Linked DNA regions of Homo sapiens: regions 1, 3 and 4 are each linked to region 2. Evidence: promoter capture Hi-C in human tissues and cell types (Jung and others, 2019). All regions are on one chromosome and are shown on one strand. Each heading gives the region's core, a stretch centred on a gene start or on the middle of the fragment in contact. The rest is flanking DNA. Distances are from core to core; before and after follow the strand shown.

Region 1 (5,399 bases), core at 1,536-4,035, 660 kb before region 2:
GGAGTTAAGAGACTAGCCTGGCCAACATGGTGAAACTCCCATCTCTACTGAAAAATACAAAAAATTAGCGGGGCGCGGTAGCACACACCTGTAGTCCCGGCTACTCCGGAGGCTGAGGCAGGAGAATTGCTTGAACACTGGAGGCGGAGGTTGCGGTGAGCCGAGATCACACCACTGCATTCCAGCTTGGGTGATATGGTGAGACTCCCATCTCAAAAAAAACAAAAACAAAAAAACCCCCAAAGCTTTGATGTAGGCTAATCACACAACAAAAGAAAGGTAGTGGTTAAGTAGTCCAGGGAGAACAAAAGTTTGTACACTATGGGCAATGTAATCATAGTGGTCTATTCGGCTCTTGAGATGCATTGTTCACTGAGGCAGAACATAAACCACTATTCACCTTTAAGTGGCAACTTCATGGACTTAGTTATGGTCCCAGGACAGTATAATGTTTAGCAGCCTTGACAGTACAAAGGTATATGGATAAAAGTGGGAGGTGGAAAGGGGCAAGAGGTGACAAGTGGAGTGTTTTTAAAGGAAACTAACAGGGAAACAAAAAACGGCACGTCCGGGGTAGTGATGTGAGCAAGTCAGTGGCTGATGTCATACATTGGTTAAGTCAAGAAATAAAGGTCAGGCACGGTGGCTTGCATCTGTAATCCCACTTTGGGAGGTGGAGGCTTGAGGATTGCTTGAGGCCAGGAGTTTGAGACCAGCCTGGACAATATAGCAAGTCGTCTCTCTGAAAAGTTTTTGAAAAATTAGCTGAGTGTGGTGGCACAGGCCTGTAGTCCCAACTACAGGTTGTAGTGCTTGAGCCCAGGAGTTCGAGGCTGCAGTGAGCTATGATCGAAACTCCATCTGAAAAAAAAAGAAAAAGCTAAAAACGTTCCAGTGGCTGCTTCCGGGAGGAAGGGGAGGTGTAGCCACAGATCGCTGCCTTTTTCCCTACATCTTTGCGGATGGCTATTTTACAAGATGTATGTCTTCAGGCAAATGACTTCATCCTCGAATTTCAGGTTCATGATCTATACTACAGGAATGTGATTATGCTACTTAGACTTAATAGGGTTGCTCTATGGTTAAGTGATGGCTGTCCCTAAAATGTTCAAGGATATCGGGAGAAGGTTGCAAAATAGGAGGAAGAAGCTGGCTGCTTTTTTTTTTTTTTTTGAGACGGAGTCTCGCTCTGTCGCCCTGGCTGGAGTGCAGTGGCGCAATCTCAGCTCACTGCAACCTCCGCCTCCTGGGTTCACGCCGTTCTCCTGCCTCAGCCTCCCTAGTAGCTGGGACTACAGGCGCCCGCCACCACGCCTGGCTAATTTTTTGTATTTTTAGTAGAGACAGGGTTTCACCATGTTAGGATGGTCTCGATCTCCTGACCTCGTGATCCGCCCGCCTCGGCCTCCCAAAGTGCTGGGATTACAGGCGTGAGCCACCGCGCCTGGCCAGAAGCTGGCTTCTTGCAGGGACAGCAGGGCCGCAAGGCTCTGTGACTCTAGGCCCCATCACACCCGGCCCTGTCCCACTTCCTCTTTCGGCCAGAACCCCAGAACTCCAGTCATTCATAGGCCGGGTCCTCCTCGGGGGAACCAGGCCTGCCCCCTAGGAATCAGGGTATCCACGCCTCCTCGGCCCGCTCTCGGAGCCTGGGCCTCAACACCTGCAGATTGGCTCCCGGGCCAGGACCTGTCGCTTGAACATCAGTGGCCGCCGCCGTCCAATCACAGACGTACAGGGGCGGGCTGGCGGGCCTGTTGGGCCAGCAGGAGGACGGCGCCGGGCCGAGGCCGCTGGACCCGCCGTTGGAACCACAGCTGGGTGAAGTCAGTGCTGCTAGGTCTTTGGAGCCAGACCGAAGGGAGGGTCGCGCGCCCCTGGGTGGGTAGCACCAGGCGGCGGCCGTCGGCCGGGCCTCCCGAAGCCTCCTCCAGCCGCTAATACCGCCCGCGCCTCCCTCCTAGTCCTAGACCTGGCATTGCCTGTCCCTCTTCTTCGTCTTCCAGACCCTCCTGACCCGCCATATTAGGTCCCGGCCCCGCCCTCCGTCTCATTGCCCATTGCCCACCCCACCCCACCGCCCCCTCCCCGGCCTACCGTCAGCTCATTGGCCCAGGCTCCCGCCTTCTTCGCCCAATGTTAGGCCTCACCTCCTCTAGGATCCACCCTCTCCCCGCCCACCCGCATAAGCCAGGCCCACCATTCCAACTCTTTCTCCTTTTTGGCTTGTAGGCCGCACCTACTCTGCATATGCCCCGCCCCTCACTCCAGGTGTCGCCCACTTAACTGAAGATCCAGGATCCCCTCCTTAAGGTTTGTCTGGGCTCGGAATTGCCTTTTTTTTTTTTCTTTTTTGAGACGGAGTTTCCCTGTTGTGACCCAGGCTGGAGTACAGTGGCGCGATCTCAGCTCACTGCAACCTCCACGTCCCGGGTTCAAGCGATTCTCCTGCCTCAGCCTCCCAAGTAGCTGGGACTACAGGCGCCCGCCACCACGCCCAGCTAATTTTTGTATTTTTAGTAGAGACGGGGTTTCACCACGTTGCCCAGGCTGGTCTCGAGCTCTTGATCTCAGGTGATCCGCCCGCCTCGGCCTACCAAAGTGCTGGGATTACAGGCGTGAGCCACCGCACCCGGCCCGGAATTGCCGCCTTTAGACCCTCACCCACCCGCTGCTGAGTCTTCCTGGGCCCCGCCCCGGCCCTAAGCCCCGCACAGGACCTGCTAGGCCCCGCCCATTTATTTCCCCCCTTTCCAACCTCTTCCTCCCCAGCCTCCGCACCCTACCCTTGTTTCCTGTCCCTGTCGCGCCCAGGTGTTTACCTGGCACTCAGGTGAGTGGTGCGCTCTGGCTGTTTTCTGTCGGAGCCGCCCGCCTCTTCCTTCAGCGCGTCCCACAAATCCCGACGGCACGGAGGGGCCCCAGGCCAAGGGCGATGGGCCCCTGAGCCCTGACACCGCTTCGCCGCTGCTGCAGGTGCCCCTGGCCGGCAGCGCCGCCGTGGTCCCGGAGCGCGGCGACATGCCGGAGCTGGTGGTGACCGCGCTGCTGGCGCCGTCGCGCCTGTCGCTGAAGCTGCTGCGCGCCTTCATGTGGAGCCTGGTGTTCTCGGTGGCGCTGGTGGCCGCGGCGGTCTACGGCTGCATAGCGCTCACGCACGTGCTGTGCCGGCCCCGGCGCGGCTGCTGCGGGCGCCGTCGGAGCGCGTCCCCCGCCTGCCTGAGCGACCCCTCGCTGGGTGAGCACGGTTTCCTGAACCTCAAGGTGATCGCACGGGGGCGCTATCGGGGCTGCGGGGTCGCGTGGGGTCGAGACGGTTCAAGCCTCGGGAGAGAGGGTTCCCCAGGCTTCAGGCTGTGCCCTCCCCCTAGAGCTCGGGCCTGCGTCTGCACTATGTCTCGGCTGGACGAGGTAACGGACCCCTCATGCTGTTTCTGCACGGCTTCCCTGAGAACTGGTACGTCTGGGGCCAGGGGCCTGAGGCCCACGGGACTCGGGGGCAGGTGGAGCTTGGGCTCCCAAGAGGCAGGGAGGAGGGCTGTATAGATCGGGACAAGCTGAACATAGATGGGGATAGGGGTACTGAGCCAGCATACCCAGGATCCCTAGGCCCTGAAGGGACAGGACAAAGGGGTATTGAGGTTGATTGAAGTTCCCTGGATTCAGGGTGTAGCTGGCTTCAGCCTCAGCCTCTGCCTCTGCCTGGGATTCCCCATCCTCCTTTTAGGGGAAGTTTAGAGCAGGAAGGAGGGTTTGCCAATGGTTGCTGATGTGCGTAGGGTGCAGGTGCAACCTGAGGGCCCTGACTCAGCCTCCCTCCCTCGCCCGCCTGGCAGGTTCTCCTGGCGTTACCAGCTCCGGGAGTTCCAGAGCCGCTTCCATGTTGTGGCTGTGGACTTGCGAGGCTATGGCCCCTCGGATGCACCTCGGGATGTGGACTGCTACACAATCGACCTGCTGCTGGTGGACATCAAAGATGTCATCCTAGGCCTGGGTGCAGACATACCCCCATCCTAGGCGTGGCCTCCCTCATCCTGCACACACGCATACCCCCGCTTTCTCCTTGCTGGAACCTACTTCCCCCATCCCTGCTTCAGTCCTACTGGGCACCTCACTTATGCGAGCTCCTTGAATTCCCACAGGTTACTCGAAGTGCATCCTTGTGGCCCATGACTGGGGTGCCCTCCTTGCCTGGCATTTCTCCATCTACTACCCATCCCTGGTCGAGCGGATGGTTGTGGTCAGTGGTGCCCCCATGTCGGTGTACCAAGGTGTGTGTGGGAGTCCGGGACACTGGGATGTACTTATGTGCAAGGGGGCAGGGACATGTGTCTGTGTTTTCAATTCTCTGTATACCTGTCAACACATCAGGGGCTGAGGGTGCAGCAATCAACCCAGGTCCCTTCGGTTGTGGAACTCCTCATTCGGAAATTAATGACACGCCAGACCCAGTGGCTCACACCTGTAATCCCAGCCCTCCGGGAGGCTGAGGTGGGAGGATCACTTGAGGCCAGGAGTTCAAGACCAGTCTGGTCAACATAGCAAGACCCCAACTGTCTCTACAAAAAAAAAAAAAAAATGTAATTAGCCAGGCATTGGTGGTGCATGCCTGTAATCCCAGCTACTCGGGAGGCTGATGCAGGAGAATCTCTTGAACCTGGGAGGTGGAGGTTGCAGTGAGCTGAGATCATGCCATTGCACTCCAGCCTAGGCAACAAGAGCAAAACTCCATCTCAAAAAATAAATAAATAAAATAAAGTATGGCCAGGCGTGGTGGCTCCTGCCTGTAATCCCTGCACTTTGGGAGGCCAAAGCCGGTGGATTGCTTGAGCCCAGGGGTTCAAGACCAGCCTGGCCAACATGGTGAAACCCCGTCTCTACTAAAAATACAAAAAAATCAGCCAGGCATGGTAGTGCACGCTTGTAGTCTCAGCTACTCGGGAGGCTGAGGCAAGAGAATCACTTGAACCTGAGAAGTGGAGGTTGCAGTAAGCCAAGATCGCACCACTGCACTCCAGCCTGGATGACAGAGTGAGACTCTGTCTCAAAAATAAAATAAAATAAAATAAATCACAATACACTTAGGAGTAATCCACATTTTTTTATAGCACTTACAGTAACAAGGAATATGCACACAGTAACCTACTTAAGGCTCCTGGGCTTATGAAGGTTGTATTATCCCCATGTTCCAGCTGGAGGAAACTGAGGCTGGGGAGGTTAACAATGTCTATCATATCACCTGATGTTAATATGCAGCACTGTGGTCATAACTGTGCTCTCTCTCTCTCTTTTGTTGTTTTTTTTCTTTTTCTTTTCTTTTCTTTTTTTTTTTTTTTTTTTTTTTTTTGAGACAGAGTCTTGCTCTGTCGCCAGGCTGGAGTGCAGTGGCGTGATCTCAG
Region 2 (5,291 bases), core at 1,025-3,524:
GGGCACAAGAATCACAGATTAATGTGGTGGCCTGGAGATAGGGACAGGTCACACAGGTAGCCCTGGAAAGAAGGTCTCAGCTGGACGCAGTGGTTCAAGCCTGTAATCCCTGCACTTTGGGAGGCCGAAGCGGGTGGATCACCTGAGGTCAGGAGTTCAAGACCAGCCTAGCCAACATGATGAAACTCCGTCTCTACTAAAAATACAAAAAAATTATTTGGGAGGCCAAGGCGGGCGGATCACAAGGTCAGGAGATCAAGACTATCCTGGCTAACACGGTGAAACCCCGTCTCTACTAAAAATACAAAAAAAGTAGCCGGGCGTGGTGGCGGGCGCTTGTAGTCCCAGCTACTCGGCAGGCTGAGGCAGGAGAATGGCGTGAACCCGGGAGGCGGAGCTTGCAGTGAGCCGAGATTGCGCCACTGCACTCCAGCCTGGGCAACGGAGCAAGACTCCGTCTCAAAAAAAAAAAAAAAAAAATTAGCTGGCCGTGATGGCACCCACCTGTAATCCCAGCTACTTAGGAGGCTAAGGCAGGAGAATCGCTTGAAACCAGAAGGCGGAGGTTGCGGTGAGCCGAGATCACACCACTGCACTCCAGCCTGGGCAACAAGAGTGAAACTCTGTCTCAAAAAAAAAAAAAAAAAAGAAAGAAAAAGAAAAGTCTCTATTGCCAGTTGTCTATTCTCAATAGCTTGCTTTTTTCACTTAATATATCAGCAGCCACTTCCCCATGTCAACACATAAAGATCTAGTTGAGTAATTCTCCCAAAGCTGGTCACTAGACCAGCAACATCACATCACCTGGGAATTTTTATAGACAGGGTCTCACTCTGTTGCCTAGGCTGGAGTGCAGTGATGGGATCACGGCTCACTGCAGCCTGGAACTCCTGGGCTCAAGTTATCCTCCTGCCTCAGCCTCCCGAGTAGCTGGGACTACAAGCGTGCACCACCACACCCAGCTTTTTTTTTTTTTTTTTTTTTTGTAGAGATAGAGTCTCCCTATATTGCCCAGGCTGGTCTCAAACTCCTGAGTTCAGGCGATCCTCCCATCTCAGCTTCCCAAAGCTCTGAGATTACAGGTGTGAGCCACTGCCCTGGCCCATATTTTTTTTTTTCCATTAGACTGTTTTTCTGTTCCATTAGACTGTAAGCTTGAAAGACAGGAACCACGTCTGCCTTTCTGTCTGACCACTGGACCCAGCATACCATACAGTAGATGCCTAATACATGCTTTGTCAGACTGGGGAAAAATATATATTAGATATTAATATTAGATATTAATATATTTTAAAATTGTATAAAGATTGCATATATATATATAATTTATTTGAAATTTCAGCTTTAAATAATTGTTTTTGACCAGGCACAGTGGCTTACGCCCATAATCCCAACACTTTGAGAGGCTGAGGCGGGAGGATCCCTGGAGCCCAAGAGTTCAAGGTTGCAGTGAGCTATGATTGTGCCACTGTGCTCCAGCCTGGGCGACAGAATGAGACCCTATCTCAAAAAATAATAATATAATAATAACTGTATTTATGAATAACTTTTATTTAAATTAAATTTATCAAAATCTTTCTTGGACAGGCACTGTGGCTCATGCCCGTAATCCCAGCAATTTGGGAGGCTGAGGCGGGGGAATCACTTGAGGTCAGGGGTTCGAGACCAGCCTGGCCAACTGGCGAAACCCCGTCTCTACTAAAAATACAAAAATTAGCTGGGGGTGGTGGCGGGCGCCTGTAATCCCAGCTACTCAGGAGGCTGAGGCAAGAGAATTTGAGCCCAGGAGGTGGAGGCTGCAGTGAGCCGAGATCGCGCCAATACACTCCAGTCTGGGCGACAGGTACTGTGTCTCCAAAAACAAAAAATTCTTAAAGTGACTTTATGCAAAATTACATACATTAACGATATAATAGATATCGTGCCTTTTTTAAGAGAAATTTGAATGTTTTCAAAGAAAAAACTTTTTGGAAAATGATATGAAAAATAATTTTAATATGTGCTTTAGCCTCGGGCTACCAGAAGAGCCCCAGATAGGGTCGAGGGAGGCCTCAGTCCCACACCGTCCCCTTCTGCCCCGCCCAGATGGATTTCCAGGCTCAGGGAAGTCCCCTCTCGGGTCCAACCATATCCTGCGAAGAGACACAGCACCTGTCCCGCCTCCGCCTGTCCGCGAGGTGACGCCAGGCGGACCGGAGCGATCCTCTGGAGTCCTTCATCTCTATGATCTCCGCAGCTGCCTAAATGACCCGGAAGCTGTGTCTGACTGAGGGGTCAGTGGTTCCGGGTAGGAGCTAGGTGACCCTCGGCTGCTGCAGGGATCTGCAGCGACTGCAGCCATGGGGGCCCACCTGGTCCGGCGCTACCTGGGCGATGCCTCGGTGGAGCCCGACCCCCTGCAGATGCCAACCTTCCCGCCAGACTACGGCTTCCCCGAACGCAAGGAGCGCGGTGAGGCCCAGTGCGCAGGCGCAGCCAGAGGGCGTGGGGCGCGGGTGCCTGAACACCTGGCACCCCAGGGCTGGCACCCCAGGGCTGGGCTCTAACCTCAGGTGTTGTATCTGGGTTTGGGTCTAGACTAGGAGTCCACAGGACGTGCATGACCCCACCTCAGTGTGGAGGCGTTCCAGCCCAAGGGCACGGCTTGAGCAAAAGCCAGGGAGCAAAAGTGAGGCGACAAGTGGGGGTTCGGGCAGGAATGCGACGCGCAGAGCTGGGTCGAGTCTTTTTTTTTTTTCTTTTGAGACGGAGTCTCGCTTTTTCTTTCAGGCTGGAGTGCAGTGGCTTGGTCTCGATTCACTGGCAGCCTCCACCTCCCGGGTTCAAGCGATTCTCCTGCCTCAGCCTCGCGAGTAGCTGTGATTACAGATGTGTACCACCATGCCCAGCTACTTTTTTGTATTGTTAGTAGAGACGGGGTTTCTCCTTGTTGGCCAGGCTGCTCTTGAACTCCTGACCTCAAGTGATCCGCCCGCCTCGGCCTCCCCAAGTGCTGGGATCGCAGAAGTCAGTCACCACGCCCGGCCTCGGGCCAAGTCTTGGGGGACGTGGGGAGTCATGGGAGGGCAGGGACACGTTCATTGTACCCCCTTCCTGATGTCACTGCAATTGTGGGGTATGCACAAGGAAATAAGGAAGATTCGAGCTGCAAATACTGTCCTGCAAAGTGCTTTGTTTTGCTTTGAGACGGGATCTTGCTCTGTTGCCCAGGCTGAGTGTAGTGGCACAATCACAGCTCATTGCATCCTCGACCTCCTGGGCTCAAATGATCCTCCCGCCTCAGCCTCCCGAGTAGCTGGGACTACAGGAGCGCCCCAGGATGCCAGACTGATTTTTTATTTTTTGTAGAGTTGGGGGTCTTGCTGTGTTGCCCAGGCTGGTCTCAAACTCCTGGGCTCAAACGATCCTTCTGCCCAGCCTCCCAAAGTGCTGGGATTGAAGATGTGAGCCACTACGCCCAGGATGGTTTTTTGGTTCGTGTGTTTGTTTTTGCTTTTAATGTAGTAATATCACAGGCATACCGAGCACCAGCTCTGGGCCACGTCCCACATTAGGCACCGCGGATACAGCAGGGAACTGGAGGGATGCAGGCACTGTCTCCAGAGAACTCAGCACAGTGGGAAAGATTGTGGAATCAGGCAGAGCTGGGGGTGTCAAAGCAGGCTTCCAAGAGGCAGTGGCTGGAAACAAAGACGTGAAGGGTGGCCGGTCGTGGTGGCTCATGCCTGTAATCCCAGCACTTTGGGAGGCTAAGGCGGGCAGATCACCTGGGGTCAGGAGTTTGAGACCAGCCTGGCCAACATGGTGAAACACCATCTCTACTAAAAATATAAAAATTGAGGCCGGGCATGGTGTCTCACACCCATAATCCCAGCACTTTGGGAGGCCGAGGCGGGCAGATCACGAGGTCAGGGGATTGAGACCATCCTGGCCAATGTGGTGAAACCCTGTCTCTACTAAAAATACAAAAATTAGCCAGGGGCGTGGTGGTGCACACCTGTAGTCCCAGCTACTCAGGAGGCTGAGGCAGGAGAATCGCTTGAACCCAGGAGGCAGAGGTTATAGTGAGCCGAGATCACACCACTGCACTCCAGCCTGGGCGACAGAGCAAGACTCCATCTCAAAAACAAAATACAAAAATTAAGCCGGGCACGGTGGCTTATGCCTGTAATCCCAGCACTTTGGGAGGCCAAGGCCGGTGGATCACCTGAGGTCAGGAGTTTGAGACCAGCCTGGCCAACATGGTGAAACCCCGTCTCTACTCTACTAAAAATACAAAAATTAGCCAGGTGTGGTGGCGCATGCCTGTAATCCCAGCTGTCTGGGAGGCTGAGGCAGGAGAATTGGCTGGAACCCAGGAGGCAGAGGTTGCAGTGAACCAAGGTCAGGCCACCACACTCCAGCCTGGGTGACAGAGCGAGACTGTCTGAAAAAACAAAACAAAACAAAACAAAGATGTGAAGGGGCATGAGTAGGGGTTGACCAAAGAGAGGTGGCAGAGCCAAGCTTCTAAGCAGAGGAGGGACACAATCAGTTTTGGTTGGTCAAAAGGTCACACTGTCTACTGAGTGGGCGACAAGCTTGAGACAGAGACCTCTAAGCAGCCTGGATTTGAGAGAAAGTTGGGAGATGGTATAATCACTCCAGTGTCCACACTCCGGGTAGTCCTTCCGCCCCAGCTGAACCTGCAGTTCATTGGTCCGTCCACCTTCCTCCCACTGCCTCACATACCTTGCTTTCCCCAAGATCAGCTTTGCAAACGCTAGCAACCTGCTGCCCTTCTCTCTTGCTTACTCTGGATAAACTCACCTCTTTCCCTTCCTTGGTGCCTATCCCCGTGCAACTGAACATAATGGGGGGCGGGGAGATAAGAAAAAAACAGCTCTAAGCCAGGCAAAATGGCTCATGCCTGTAATCCCAACGGTTTGGGAGGCAAAGGCAGGAGGATTGCTCAAGGCCAGAAGTTCAAGAACAGCCTGGGCAACATAGCAAGGCCCTGTCTCTACAATTTTTTATTTTTATTTTTTAATTAGCTGGGTGTGGTGGCGCATTCCTGCAGTCCCTGCTGACCGGTCTCCCGATTGGTACTCCAGTGGACTCTTTATGGTGCCTGGCCTTTCTCTTACCTCCCGGATCCTTCACTCTCTCCCTCCCTCCTAGATCACTGTCCCCTGCCCTCTCTTTCCTCCTTTCCACCCCCTTTCAGCCAGTCACTTTGCTCACTGCAACATCTGCCTTCCCGGTTCAAGCGATTCTCCCGCCTCAGCCTCCCGAGTAGCTGGGATTACAGG
Region 3 (5,261 bases), core at 999-3,498, 530 kb before region 2:
GTCCATAACCTTGGCAAAATAAGCTTTCTAAATTTATTGAGACTTATCTGAGATACCTTTTGGTTTACATGATGCTCACAGATGCTGTGGTTCAGTTTGGACAGGGGAGACTTAGGCTAGAGGGTGACTAAAAAATGGCAGGGTCCTGAGTCATCTGGAGGTGTCTTCACTCAGAGGTCTTGCAACTGACGCCAGCTGTTGCTGGGGCTGTGGACCAGGGTAGCTACACAGGCCTCTCCGTGTGGTTCGGGTTTCCTTCCAGCATGGTGGTCTTGGGGTAGTCAGACTTCTTAGACAGCCACCCAGCCCTCTAAAAGTGAACAAGGAAGAAGTTGCATCTCTTCTGACCCAGCCTTGAGTGTCATGCTGTGTCACTTCTGCCACCAGATTCAAGGAAAGGGGGCACAGATTATACCTCTCTACATGGGAGGCATGTCAAGGTGACATTGTACAAGTGGATGTAGGGTGGGAGATATTGTGGCCATCTGGGAAAATATAACCTGTCTTAGCCCTACATTTCATTCTCCATATATTACCCACAGTGGACTTAAAACTGAAATCAGATTGTGGCACCATCCTGCTGAATAGTGTTCCTATGACTGCTCACCTCACCTAGAATAAAATTCAGATTCCCAGCATGGTCTCACAAGACTTCCAGCCTCATCTCTTTGGCTGTCCCATTCACTCACCATGGCCTCCTTTCTGGTTCTCCTTCATATCAAGCTATTTCTGCCTCAGGTCCTTTGCACACATGGTTCCTTCTGCCTGGGAAGCCCTGGTTCTTCTGAGGCCACCTCTCTCTCATCCTTTAGGTCCAATGGCACCTTCTAGGGAGACCCTTTCTGTCCACCACCTCTGTCTAGTCAGTATCACATTACTCAGTTTCCTTTCTTCTAACACTTGCCACAACTTGAATTTAACAGTCCCAGTGGTTTGTTCTAGTTTATCTGCCTCCTCGTCCAGACTGGGTCTCCACCAAGTGATCAAGTGATGCTTGTCTATGTTGTTCACTGCTGAATATTCAGGTAGGAGATCAGGTGTCAGGTGATGGAGGTCTGTATAGGAGGGGGTGTCCAAGAGGCCTGGACGAGGAGGCTGTGTGTGTTTGGTTTTAATGTGTCTTTGTGTGGTTCTCTGTGTTTATTGTACTTGGAGTTTGTTGAGCTTTGTGGATATGTAGATTCATGTCTTTCATCAATTCTGGGCTTCTGGGAAGTTTTTTGGCCATTATTTCATCAAATATTATTATTATTATTTTTTGAGATGGAGTCTCACTCTGTTGCCCAGGCTGGAGTGCAGAGGCATGGTCTTGGCTCACTGCAACCTCTGCTTTCTGGGTTCAAGTGATTCTCCTGCCTCAACCTCTCAAGTAGGTGGGGTTACAGGTGCCTGTCACCATGCCCAGCTAATTTTTGTATTTTTAGTAGAGATGGGTTTTCGTCATGTTGGCCAGGCCGGTCTCAAATTTCTGACCTTAAGTGATCTGCCCACCTTGGCCTCCCAAAGTGCTGGGATTATAGGCATGAACCACCATACCCAGCCTCATCAAATATTCTTTCTGCTCCTTTCACTTCTCTCCTTCTGGGACTCTCATTATGCATATATTGGTATACTCATTATACAACTGTTGATATACAGTTCTCCTAGGTGCTGTTCACTTTTCTTGGATATGTGTGTTTGGGGGGCATCAGTCTGTAAAAGGGTGGAGTGCACCCTCCTCCCTATGAGATCCCTGCGCAGATGTCTTTGAGGCAGCTATTGACAATGGGGAAAGAAGTCAGGGGTCAAGACAATACCTGTTTACAAGTTGAGGGTAGAGGCTGCAGGACTAAGGTCCCAATGGGGTATTTCAGAGTCTCAGAGGAGCTGGGGTCTGACATGGGAGTGAGAGCAACCCTTAGCCCCACCCATATGACACCCACATACCACATAAATATTTATTATTATTATTTTGTGTAAATCTTTTTGAGTTTTTGTACTTTTCCTGTTGTCTTTATTTGCCTGCATGTAGCCTATTTAATTCACCATTGGCTCTGATTCTTTCTTAGCAATCAGAAATTTCCATAAGTGAGAACAGATTATCTGCAAATTGTATGTAATGAAATGGTTATGAATTCTAAGTTTCATAATGATGTTTGTATGCTTATTCCTGTGGATTTTGCTAGTTGCTGTACAGATTTTAGAGCCTGTATGCGTACATTTTCTTTTCTTTTCTTTTATAGAGACATAGTCTTGCTTTGTTGCCCAGGCTGGAGTGCAGTGGCACGATCTTGGCTTACTGCAACCTGTGACTCCCTGGTTTAAGCGATGCTGCTGCCTCAGCCTCCTGAGTAGCTGGGATTACAGGCACACACCACCACGTGCAGCTAATTTTTATATTTTTAGTAGAGATGGGGTTTCACCATGTTGGCCAGGATGGTCTCGATTTCCTGACCTTGTGATCCATCCACCTTGGCCTCCCAAAGAGCTGAGATTACAGGGGTCAGCCACCGTGCCTGGCCCATTTTCTTTTCTTTTAAAAAAATTTATTTTCATGGCCGGGCACTGTGGCTCATGCCTGTAATCCCAGCACTTTGGGAGGCTGAGGCGGGTGGATCACGAGGTCAGGAGTTCAAGACTAGCCTGGCCAAGATGGTGAAACCCCGTTTCTACTAAAAATATAAAAATTAGCTAGGCATGGTGGCAGGCACCTGTAATCCCAGCTACTCGGGAGGCTGAGGCAGGGGAATCGCTTGAACCCAGAGGGTAGAGGTTGGAGTGAGCCAAGATCGTGCCACTGCACTCCAGCCTGGGTGACTAAGACTCTGTCTCAAATTTTTTAAAAATTATTTTCATGTTATTTTTATTTACTTTATTATTATTATTTTATTTATTTTTCTTGCTCTGTTGCTCAGGCTGTAGTGCAGTGGCACTACCACAACTCACTGCACCCTCAACCTCCTAGGCTCAAGTGATGTTCCTGCCTCAGCCTCCCAAGCAACTGGAACTACAGGCATGTGCCACCATGCCACAGGCTGATTTTTCTATTTTTTTGTGGAGATAGGGTCTCATCATGTTGCCTAGACTGTTCTCAAACTTCTGGGCTCAAGTGATCTTCCCACTTTGGCCCCCCAAGTGGCTGGGATTACAGGTGTGAGCCACCGTGCTTGGCCTTATTATTTTTAGAGACATAATCTCCCTCTGTCACCCAAGCTGGTGTGCATTGGTGTGATCATAGCTCACTGCAGACTTGAACTTCTGGGTTCAAGCAATCCTCTTGCCTCAGCCTCCTGAGTGGCTAGGCCTATAGGCATGCACTGCCATACCCAGCTAGCTTTTAAATTTTTTTTGTAGAGACAGGATCTTGCTATGTTGCCCAGGCTGGTCTCAAACTCCTGACCTCAAGCGATCCTTCTTCCTTGGCCTCTCAAAGTGCTGGGATTACAGGTGTGAGCCACTGCACCTGGCCACGTGTGTGTTTTCTTTCCCCTAAATGTTCTCATTGGCTGCAGGTCTGATGTGCTGTGCTTTTGGTACCTGGTGGATTAACCAGCCCCAGACACATATAGACCAATTAGTTGAAAGACCAAAAGACCATTTCCTGTCAGTTTTGGGCAGAGCTCAGCACCTCTGTGGTAGTCAAGGGGAATTGATGGATAAATACCCCAGCTCCCTCACCCTTGTGTTGGATGATTGAGGTTCATGTTCTACACTGACCCCTAGTGTTCACCCACGGGATTGAGCTCCAGCTGTCCACTGTAGAAACCTGGTTATCAATACACTCTTTGCTGACTTCCTTCCCTTCCCTCTCCCACATATCCACCCCACTTACAGTATTTCCTGTTTATTTCCTAAATACTTGAATCCTTGTCTCAAGGTTGGCTTCTGGTGGACTCCAAACACAGACATTCTGTCTAGGCCTCTGTTTCATGTGCAAAGGGAATAATAAATTAGGCTGTTTTCAAGGCTATGGGCATGGGGCGTGGTTCTGTGGGGCTACATCTCCATTCTACCAGCTCCCTGGGGTGCTCAGTTCCTGGGGGATGGGAGATAGAGAAGGTTTTGGGGAGCAGGACCCAAGCTTCCTCCACCCGCTGTGGTCATTCCCATTTGTTTCCACACCTGAGGCTTGCGTCTATCTGGCATCTTCCAGGAGAAGAAGGTGAATACCTCAGCCTGCCTAGGCCTCCCTGGCTGGAAGTCAGACCTCAGAGGAACCAGCAAAGGGGTGGCTGCCCAGAGATATCCATCACAGTAGCATTCAGGAGCTGGAGGGAGAGGGGATGATTGTATATAATGAAATGGTTATGAATTCTGTTAGCATAAAGCAGCTTCCTGAGGCAGGGCACAGTCTCACCTGGGTGACAGTCAGTGGTACAGCATTGCTTGACCAGAGCCTCCCATTGACCCTTGGAAAAATCTGGCCAGACAGCTATAGAGCTGAAACTGAGGTGCAGGAGGGGTCCATAGTTGCTCCATGCCACCTCCAGAGTGGTCTCTGTTTATCAGCTGCAAGGCTGTGGAGCTTTCCTGCTGGCTAGGCCCCTGCACAGCCTCAGGGATAGACTCAGCAACTGGCCACTGCAGCCATGCCAAGAGCTCTCCAAGCTGGACATGGTGGTTCACACCTGTAGTCTCAGCTATTCTGGAGACTGAGGCAGGAGGATCACTTGAGCCCAGGAGTTTGAGGCTTCAATGAGCTATGACTGCACCACTGCCTCTAGCCTGGGCAACAGAGCGAGACCCTGTCTCTCCCCGTCTCTCTCTCTCTTTTTTTTTTTTTCTTGAGACAGGGTTTTCACTCTTGTTGCCCAGGCTGAAGTGCAGTGGCGCAATCTCGGCTCACTGAAACCTCCGCCTCCCAGATTCAAGCGATTCTCCTGCCTCAGCCTCCTGAGTAGCTGAGATTACAGGCGCCCACCACCATGCCTGGCTAGATTTTGTATTTTTTAGTAGAACTCCTGACCTTAAGTTATCTGCCCTCCTTGGCCTCCCAAAGTGCTGGGATTACAGGTGTGAGCCACCGTGCCCAGCTGAGGCCCTGTCTCTTAAACAAAGCTTATCTGATGTCCAGCTCCCAGACCTGGTGTGCTGGTGTGGACCCCCTAGACTCTACAGGCTGGGTGTACCAGAGGAAGCAGGAGCAGCCTGCAGAGAGGTGGCTGATCAGGTGAGGACAGGTGGCTGGGTGGGCAGGGCTTTGACAGAGATCCCACATCAGGCTTAGCTCCTGCCTCCTTCCTCCCATGCTTCTGGGCTCTCCTGCACATTCCAAAGTAAAG
Region 4 (6,100 bases), core at 2,628-5,127, 550 kb before region 2:
ACCTACCTCCTTCCCCAGTGACTCTTTTCACAGAACAGATGGACAGCACTCTGTGCTCCCTAACCTGGATGGGATAAATGGGGCAGAGGGCAGGCTCCAGCGAGGGGGTGGCAGTGACAGTTTCATAACAGTTGCCCTCTGCTGAGCTCAGTACTGTAGACTTTCTTACCTACCCCTTACCTTTTCCTTGAAAGTAGGTGCTGTTCTTTCTGTCTTCATTTTCTGCAAGAGGAAGCTGAGGCTCAGAGAGATTGTGTGGTGGTTTGCCCTAGGTGACATGTTTGGAGAGAGCTGACCCCACAGGTGTCCCCCTAAACTCCTTGCACCTCTGTTTGAAATTTACCCCTTCTCCAGACCCCTTCCTCAACCCTTTCTCTCCTAGCAGGGACCAAGCTTGACCTCTCCCTCCCCAAACCCTTCTCTACTGCTTCCTCTGCTAGCCAGGAGTGATGCCACTGACCTTCAGGACTTAGGAGATTTAAAGCAAGCCTTGGATGTGTAGGGCTGTGAGGCAGCTGGAGTTGGGAGGCCTCGGCACAGTCTGTGCCAGCAGCTCACTCCCGTGCCAGGCACATGGTGGCTGGCAGCCTGTCAACTAAGCCCTGGGCCTGTTTAGCGTCCATCAGGAGGGCATCAGGGAGGCTGGGATCAGGAGCCCAGCTGCCAGGCTCTGCAAGGATACTGGAGGGCAGGGAGGAGTCACAGCAGATGGCTCCCTGCCATCTGCTCTGCGTGCGTTGTGCCCCTGGCCAAACCCCCTGGGTTATATAACCCTCTCCTCTCTCCCTGATTGCCCTGCCATCCTGGAGACAGGCAGTGTAACAGTGGGGCACTTAAGAGCGTGGGTTCTATTGAACTTTCAGTCTTACTTGGGCAAGCCTTGATGTCCTCAGCTGTAAGAGGGATGTAATGACAAGAGGATCTGATAAGATGTTATGCCTTGGTTTGAGCCTGGCATGTAGTATAATATATGCCTAACCAAGACCAAGCTTCTCTTGACCTCTCACCCTGCTCCTGCCCCCTTACCTGGGGCAGGGGGATTGCCCCCTTTCCCAGCTGCCCTCTGCCCTGGCCTTTAACTTTATTGCTCCACCTGTCCTTGGGCCCAGGTGGACAAGGCAAGCGTCCGGCATGGCGGAGAGAACGTGGCCGCTGTGCTGAGGGCCCATGGTGTGCGGTTCATCTTCACGCTGGTCGGTGGGCACATTTCCCCGCTGCTGGTGGCCTGTGAGAAACTGGGCATCCGTGTGGTGGACACACGCCATGAGGTCACGGCCGTCTTTGCTGCTGATGCTATGGCCCGCCTGTCCGGTGAGGGCATTGCAGAGAGGGCTGGGGACTGGTTGGACTGTGGGCTAGAGTGTCTGTGAGGGTAGGGGTTTTTCAGAGGTGGAAGAATGGCCAAGAGAGTGGGCATGGCTGTGATGGGCTCTGTGTTCCAGGGACGGTGGGCGTGGCGGCAGTGACAGCAGGCCCTGGCCTCACCAACACGGTGACTGCGGTGAAGAATGCTCAGATGGCTCAGTCCCCAATCCTGCTTCTGGGTGGGGCTGCCAGCACTCTGCTGCAGGTACCCAGTCCTTGGGGGCCAGTGGGGGCCTAGGGGGGCTTGAAGGGCTCATGCGATAACCCTGCCACACCTCTGTCTTTGCCAGAACCGGGGTGCGCTCCAGGCTGTTGATCAGCTGTCCCTTTTCCGGCCACTCTGTAAGTTTTGTGTGTCTGTGCGGAGGGTGCGGGACATTGTGCCCACCCTGAGGGCCGCGATGGCTGCCGCCCAGTCGGGCACCCCAGGTAGGTGGAGGATGGTGATGCTGAGCAGTGCTGGGGCCGAGGGGCTGGGGACATGTTATGGACTCAGCGTCCTCCCTGTCCCTGCAGGTCCGGTGTTTGTGGAGCTGCCCGTTGACGTGCTGTACCCCTACTTCATGGTCCAGAAGGAGATGGTGCCAGCCAAGCCACCCAAGGGCCTCGTGGGCCGAGTGGTCTCCTGGTGAATAGCCCCACCCCTGCCATTCCCTCCTTTATCCCCCGTTCTCTCCTGCAGCTTCCAGCCCACACCCATCCTCCTTTGATTCACATGTGGACTGGGAGGAGACAGCTGGGGGGAGAGCATTCCAGGTAGAAGGAACAGCATGTGCAAAGGTCCTGAGGCAGGAATGAACTGGGTGGGTAGGGAAAGCAAGGCGGCCCTCGTGGAGGCAGCAAAGGGGAGAGGCTCAGGACAGCCCTCCTCCTCCTCCTTTTCCCTTTCTTCTCCTCCTCCATCATCTCTTCTTCCTCCTCTTCCTCCTCCCTCTTCCTTCCTCTTCTCCTCCCTTTCCCCCACCACCTTTCCCATCGTCCTCTCCGTTTTCCTCCTCCTAAAGGATGATCCTTGAACCTCGGAAGGGAGGTTCATTCTTACATTTACAGAGGAGGAAGCTCAGAAAGGTGAAGTCACTTGCCCAAAGTCACACAGCTAAGAAGTGGCAGAGCCCAGGCCGGGTGCGGTGGCTCTCACTTGTAATCCCAGCACATTGGGAGGCCGAGGTGGGCAGATCACGAGGTCAGGAGATCGAGACCATCCTGGCTAACATGGTGAAACCCCATCTCTACTAAAAATACAAAAAAAAAAAAAATTAGCCGGGCGTGGTGGCGGGCGCCTGTAGTCCCAGCTACTTGGGAGGCTGCGGCAGGAGAATGGCGTGAACCCAGGAGGTGGAGCTTGCAGTGAGCCAAGATCGTGCTACTGCACTCCAGCCTGGGTGACAGAGCAAGACTCCGTCTCAAAAAAAAAAAAAAAAGTGGCAGAGCCCAGACTCGAGCCCTCTCCTTCCTCCTCCTTTCCTTCCCTCACATCTTTGTCCTTTTCTTTCTTTTTTTTTTTTTTTGAAACAGATTCTTCGTTCTGTTGCCTAGGCTTGAGTGCAGTGGCGTGATCTCGGCTCACTGCAACCTCCGCCTCCCCCTGGGTTCAAGTGATTTTCCTGCCTCAGCCTTCTGAGTAGCTGGGACTACAGGCGCCCGCCACCACACCTGGCTAATACTTGTATTTTTAGTAGAGACGAGGTTTCATCATGTTGGCCAGGCTGGTCTTGAACTCTTAACCTCAAGTGATCCACCCTCCTCGGCCTCTCAAACATTACAGACATGAGCCACTGCGCCTGGCCTCTTCTCTTCTTCTTCTTCCTTTCCTTTCTTCTCCTCCTCCTCTTCCTCTTCTTCCTCCTTCTCTCCCTTCCCCTCAGTCCCTTCCCTTTGCCTGTCCTTGGCCCTTCCTTTCCATACATTTAGCGAGCGGCAGCCATGTGCCAGGTTCCAGGACAGGCACGGGGCATCATCAGTGGACAAGGTAGTCAGGCTCCTGTACTCCGGATGTGTGTGAAGCGCCTGAGGGTCAGCTCAGGCAGTAGTGATTTTGTTCTATGGCCTCTTTATTTTTTTTGAGACGGAGTCTCGCTTTGTCCCCCAGGTTGGAGCGCAGTAGTGCGATCTTGGCTCACTGCAACCTCCACCTCCCGGGTTCAAGTGATTCTCCTGCCTCAGCCCCCGGAGTAGCTGGGAATACAGGTGCAGTCCACCATACCCAGCTAATTTTTGTATTTTTAGTAGAGATGAGGTTTCACCATTTTGGTCATATAGCCTCATTCTTAATGCACTTTGCCCCCTGGCTTCCCAGTCAGTCCCTCCCCTTGTTCTCCTTGCCCCTCTCTCTTGGGCTGCCTCTCACAAGGCTATCTCTTATCTTGCCTTTTTTGTTTTGTTTTGTTTTGAGACAGGGCCTCACTCTATCACCCAGGCTGGAGTGCAGTGGTATGATCATAGCTCACCACAGCCTTGAACTCCTGGCCTCGAGCAATCCTCCTGCCTCAGCCTCCCTTGCCTTTTCTTTACTTGCGGGGCTTCCCACGGTTCCATCCTGGGCTGCTTCTGTGCTGTCTTGGCCTGTCCTTAACGGTGAAAGCAGAGGCTTCTGACTCTGAGCTCCGACTGTTTCCTGCCAATGCCCATGTGTCTGTCTTTCGCTGGATAGAGCGCCCCCTGAGGGGAGGGCTGGGCAGGATCTATCTTTGTGTCTCCAGGGCCCTGCACAGGTCCTTCAGGAAAGTTGGGGCCCTGGGGCCCAGTGAGCAAGGAGACCGAGAAGACCCTGTTTGAAGCAGGAGAGGACAGTGTTCAGAACTCCCATGCAAAGCGCCTCATGTCCTAAGTGGACAGATCCTTGAACCTGGGGAGGGAGGTTCATATTTACATTGACAGAGGTGGAAGCTCAGAAGGGTGAAGTCACTTGCCCTAAGTTGCACAGCTAGGAAGTGACAGAGCCAGGACTTGAGCTCACATCTGTTGGACCCACAGGCTTAATCCTGGCATGCTGAGCCTGCGTTCCTTGCTTCTGGGGGGCTACGTGGAGTTGGGGTGGACCCCAGAGGCTACCGAGGGCAAACAGGCAGTTGAAGACCTGGCCACTAGGGTTCGTCTGTCCCTGAGGTGTCACTCATCCACCCTGTCCCCATGCCACTTTGCTCCTGGCTTTTCTCCCGGCCCCTTTCCTTGCTCAGATCCTGGAATCCTTGTAGTTAGTTAATTCTGGCAACTTGGTTTCTTCCCCCTCCCTTTTGCAGGTATTTAGAGAATTACCTGGCCAACCTCTTTGCAGGAGCCTGGGAGCCTCAGCCCGAGGGACCGCTGCCCCTGGACATCCCCCAGGCTTCCCCGCAGCAGGTGAATTGCCTCTCTTTTGTGTCTGAGGACCCTACCCTCTCCCTGAGGGGAGAGGGCCCCCTGACCCTCTCCCTGAGTCAGTACTGGGGCCTTAATCTTGGGTGCTCATGGCGACTCAAGGGCGGCCCTTTGGCTGGACGCGGTGGCTCACAGCAGCAATCCCAACACTTAGGGAGGCCGAGGCAGGCGGATCACTTGAGGCCAGGAGTTCAAGACTAGCCTGGCCAACATGGTGAAACCCTGTCTCTACTGAAAATACAAAAGTTAGCCAGGCATGGTGGCACGCGCCTGTAATCCCAGCTACTCTGGAGGCTGAGGCGGGAGAATCGTTTGAACCTGGGAGGTGGAGGCTGCAGTGAGCTGAGATCATGCCATTACACTCTATCCTGGGCAACAGAGTGAAACTGTGTCTCAAAAAAATAAATAAATAAAAAGACAGCCCTTTGATCCCCACCTCTCGCTCCAGGTTCAGCGCTGTGTGGAGATCCTGAGCCGGGCCAAGAGGCCTCTGATGGTGCTGGGGAGTCAGGCCCTGCTCACCCCAACGTCTGCCGACAAGCTTCGGTGAGAAGCGCCAGCCCTGCCCTTGTTTTCACGTTCCCAGTCCCCAGTCCTCGGGTGCTCTTGGGGAGGCGGGAGGCCCCGGCCACACTGACCTCTGCTCTGCCTGGACTCCCAGGGCTGCCGTGGAGACCTTGGGTGTTCCCTGCTTCCTTGGAGGGATGGCACGGGGGCTGTTAGGCCGCAACCACCCCCTCCACATCCGGGAGAACCGCAGTGCGGCCCTGAAGAAGGCGGATGTCATTGTCCTAGCAGGTGGGCCTGAGCCTCTTCCTTTCCCTCCTTCCCCCAGGAACCCCCTCACCCTGTTACCCAGCTTCACACGAAGGAGGAGGAAGGTCTAGTGGGCACCTATTGTACTTGATACACATTTTCACATAAAGCGCTTTGAACCCAACCAGACGCATAATAGGTGTATCAGATAGCTACTGCCCTGTAACAACCATCCCCAAACTCAATGGCTAAAAATGCATTTCTGATTTCTCAAGATCCACCTATAAGGTAGGTGGTAGCTGTGGTTTTGGCTGGGCTCATTCATGAGTCTGCACTTGGGTTAGGCAGGAAGGCAGCTGTGCTGATCCAGGCTGGGCTTGCTCACCTGTATGGGGATTGGCTGGCCCTGCAGCTCGTCTGGGATGGCCTCAGCTGGGGTCATAGAGTTCTTCACCCCTGTCTCCATGGCCCCCTTGTTTCTCATCCTCCAGTAGGCTAGCCTGGGCTGGCCGACTTGGTGAAGGATGAGAAAACTATGGGGCTAGGAGAGTGCGGTTATTCAAGAGAGTGAGTGGAGGCTGTGTGGCTTCTTGAAGTAGAGTCTGCAGGAATGGGGGGTGGG

What was found. The method cuts DNA at HindIII sites, captures the fragments that hold promoters and counts their contacts. A contact is called where the count stands out against the background at its distance.
Region 1: the fragment with the promoter of EPHX3 here is called in contact with the fragment with the promoter of NDUFB7 in region 2 in 1 of the 25 tissues and cell types used here (mesenchymal stem cells).
Region 3: a fragment that was not itself captured here is called in contact with the fragment with the promoter of NDUFB7 in region 2 in 4 of the 25 tissues and cell types used here (H1 embryonic stem cells, bladder, lymphoblastoid cells and 1 more).
Region 4: a fragment that was not itself captured here is called in contact with the fragment with the promoter of NDUFB7 in region 2 in 1 of the 25 tissues and cell types used here (dorsolateral prefrontal cortex).

Annotation. Positions count from the first base shown.
Region 1 is chr19:15,229,834-15,235,232 of GRCh38, reverse strand. It overlaps EPHX3 (epoxide hydrolase 3), which reads left to right and starts at 2,785. Exons shown (of 7, transcript NM_024794.3): 1 at 2,785-3,264; 2 at 3,372-3,457; 3 at 3,837-3,994; 4 at 4,143-4,271. The coding sequence starts at 3,022. RefSeq lists a silencer at 2,036-2,195 and an enhancer at 2,534-3,035. The HindIII fragment of the contact is 16,546 bases long and covers 1-5,399 here.
Region 2 is chr19:14,569,049-14,574,339 of GRCh38, reverse strand. NDUFB7 (NADH:ubiquinone oxidoreductase subunit B7) reads left to right here and starts at 2,274. Exons shown (of 3, transcript NM_004146.6): 1 at 2,274-2,451. The coding sequence starts at 2,340. RefSeq lists an enhancer at 2,053-2,342. The HindIII fragment of the contact is 12,939 bases long and covers 1-5,291 here.
Region 3 is chr19:15,100,111-15,105,371 of GRCh38, reverse strand. No RefSeq gene overlaps it. Among named protein-coding and RNA genes, the nearest start is that of SYDE1, 4.7 kb to the left of the region's middle. The HindIII fragment of the contact is 6,045 bases long and covers 1-5,261 here.
Region 4 is chr19:15,118,586-15,124,685 of GRCh38, reverse strand. It overlaps HACL2 (2-hydroxyacyl-CoA lyase 2), which reads left to right. Exons shown (of 16, transcript NM_006844.5): 3 at 1,110-1,311; 4 at 1,443-1,570; 5 at 1,656-1,794; 6 at 1,882-1,993; 7 at 4,605-4,704; 8 at 5,171-5,268; 9 at 5,384-5,520. It overlaps ILVBL-AS1 (ILVBL antisense RNA 1), which reads right to left and starts at 526. Exons shown (of 3, transcript NR_186314.1): 1 at 461-526; 2 at 181-222. RefSeq lists an enhancer at 1-160. The HindIII fragment of the contact is 6,371 bases long and covers 692-6,100 here.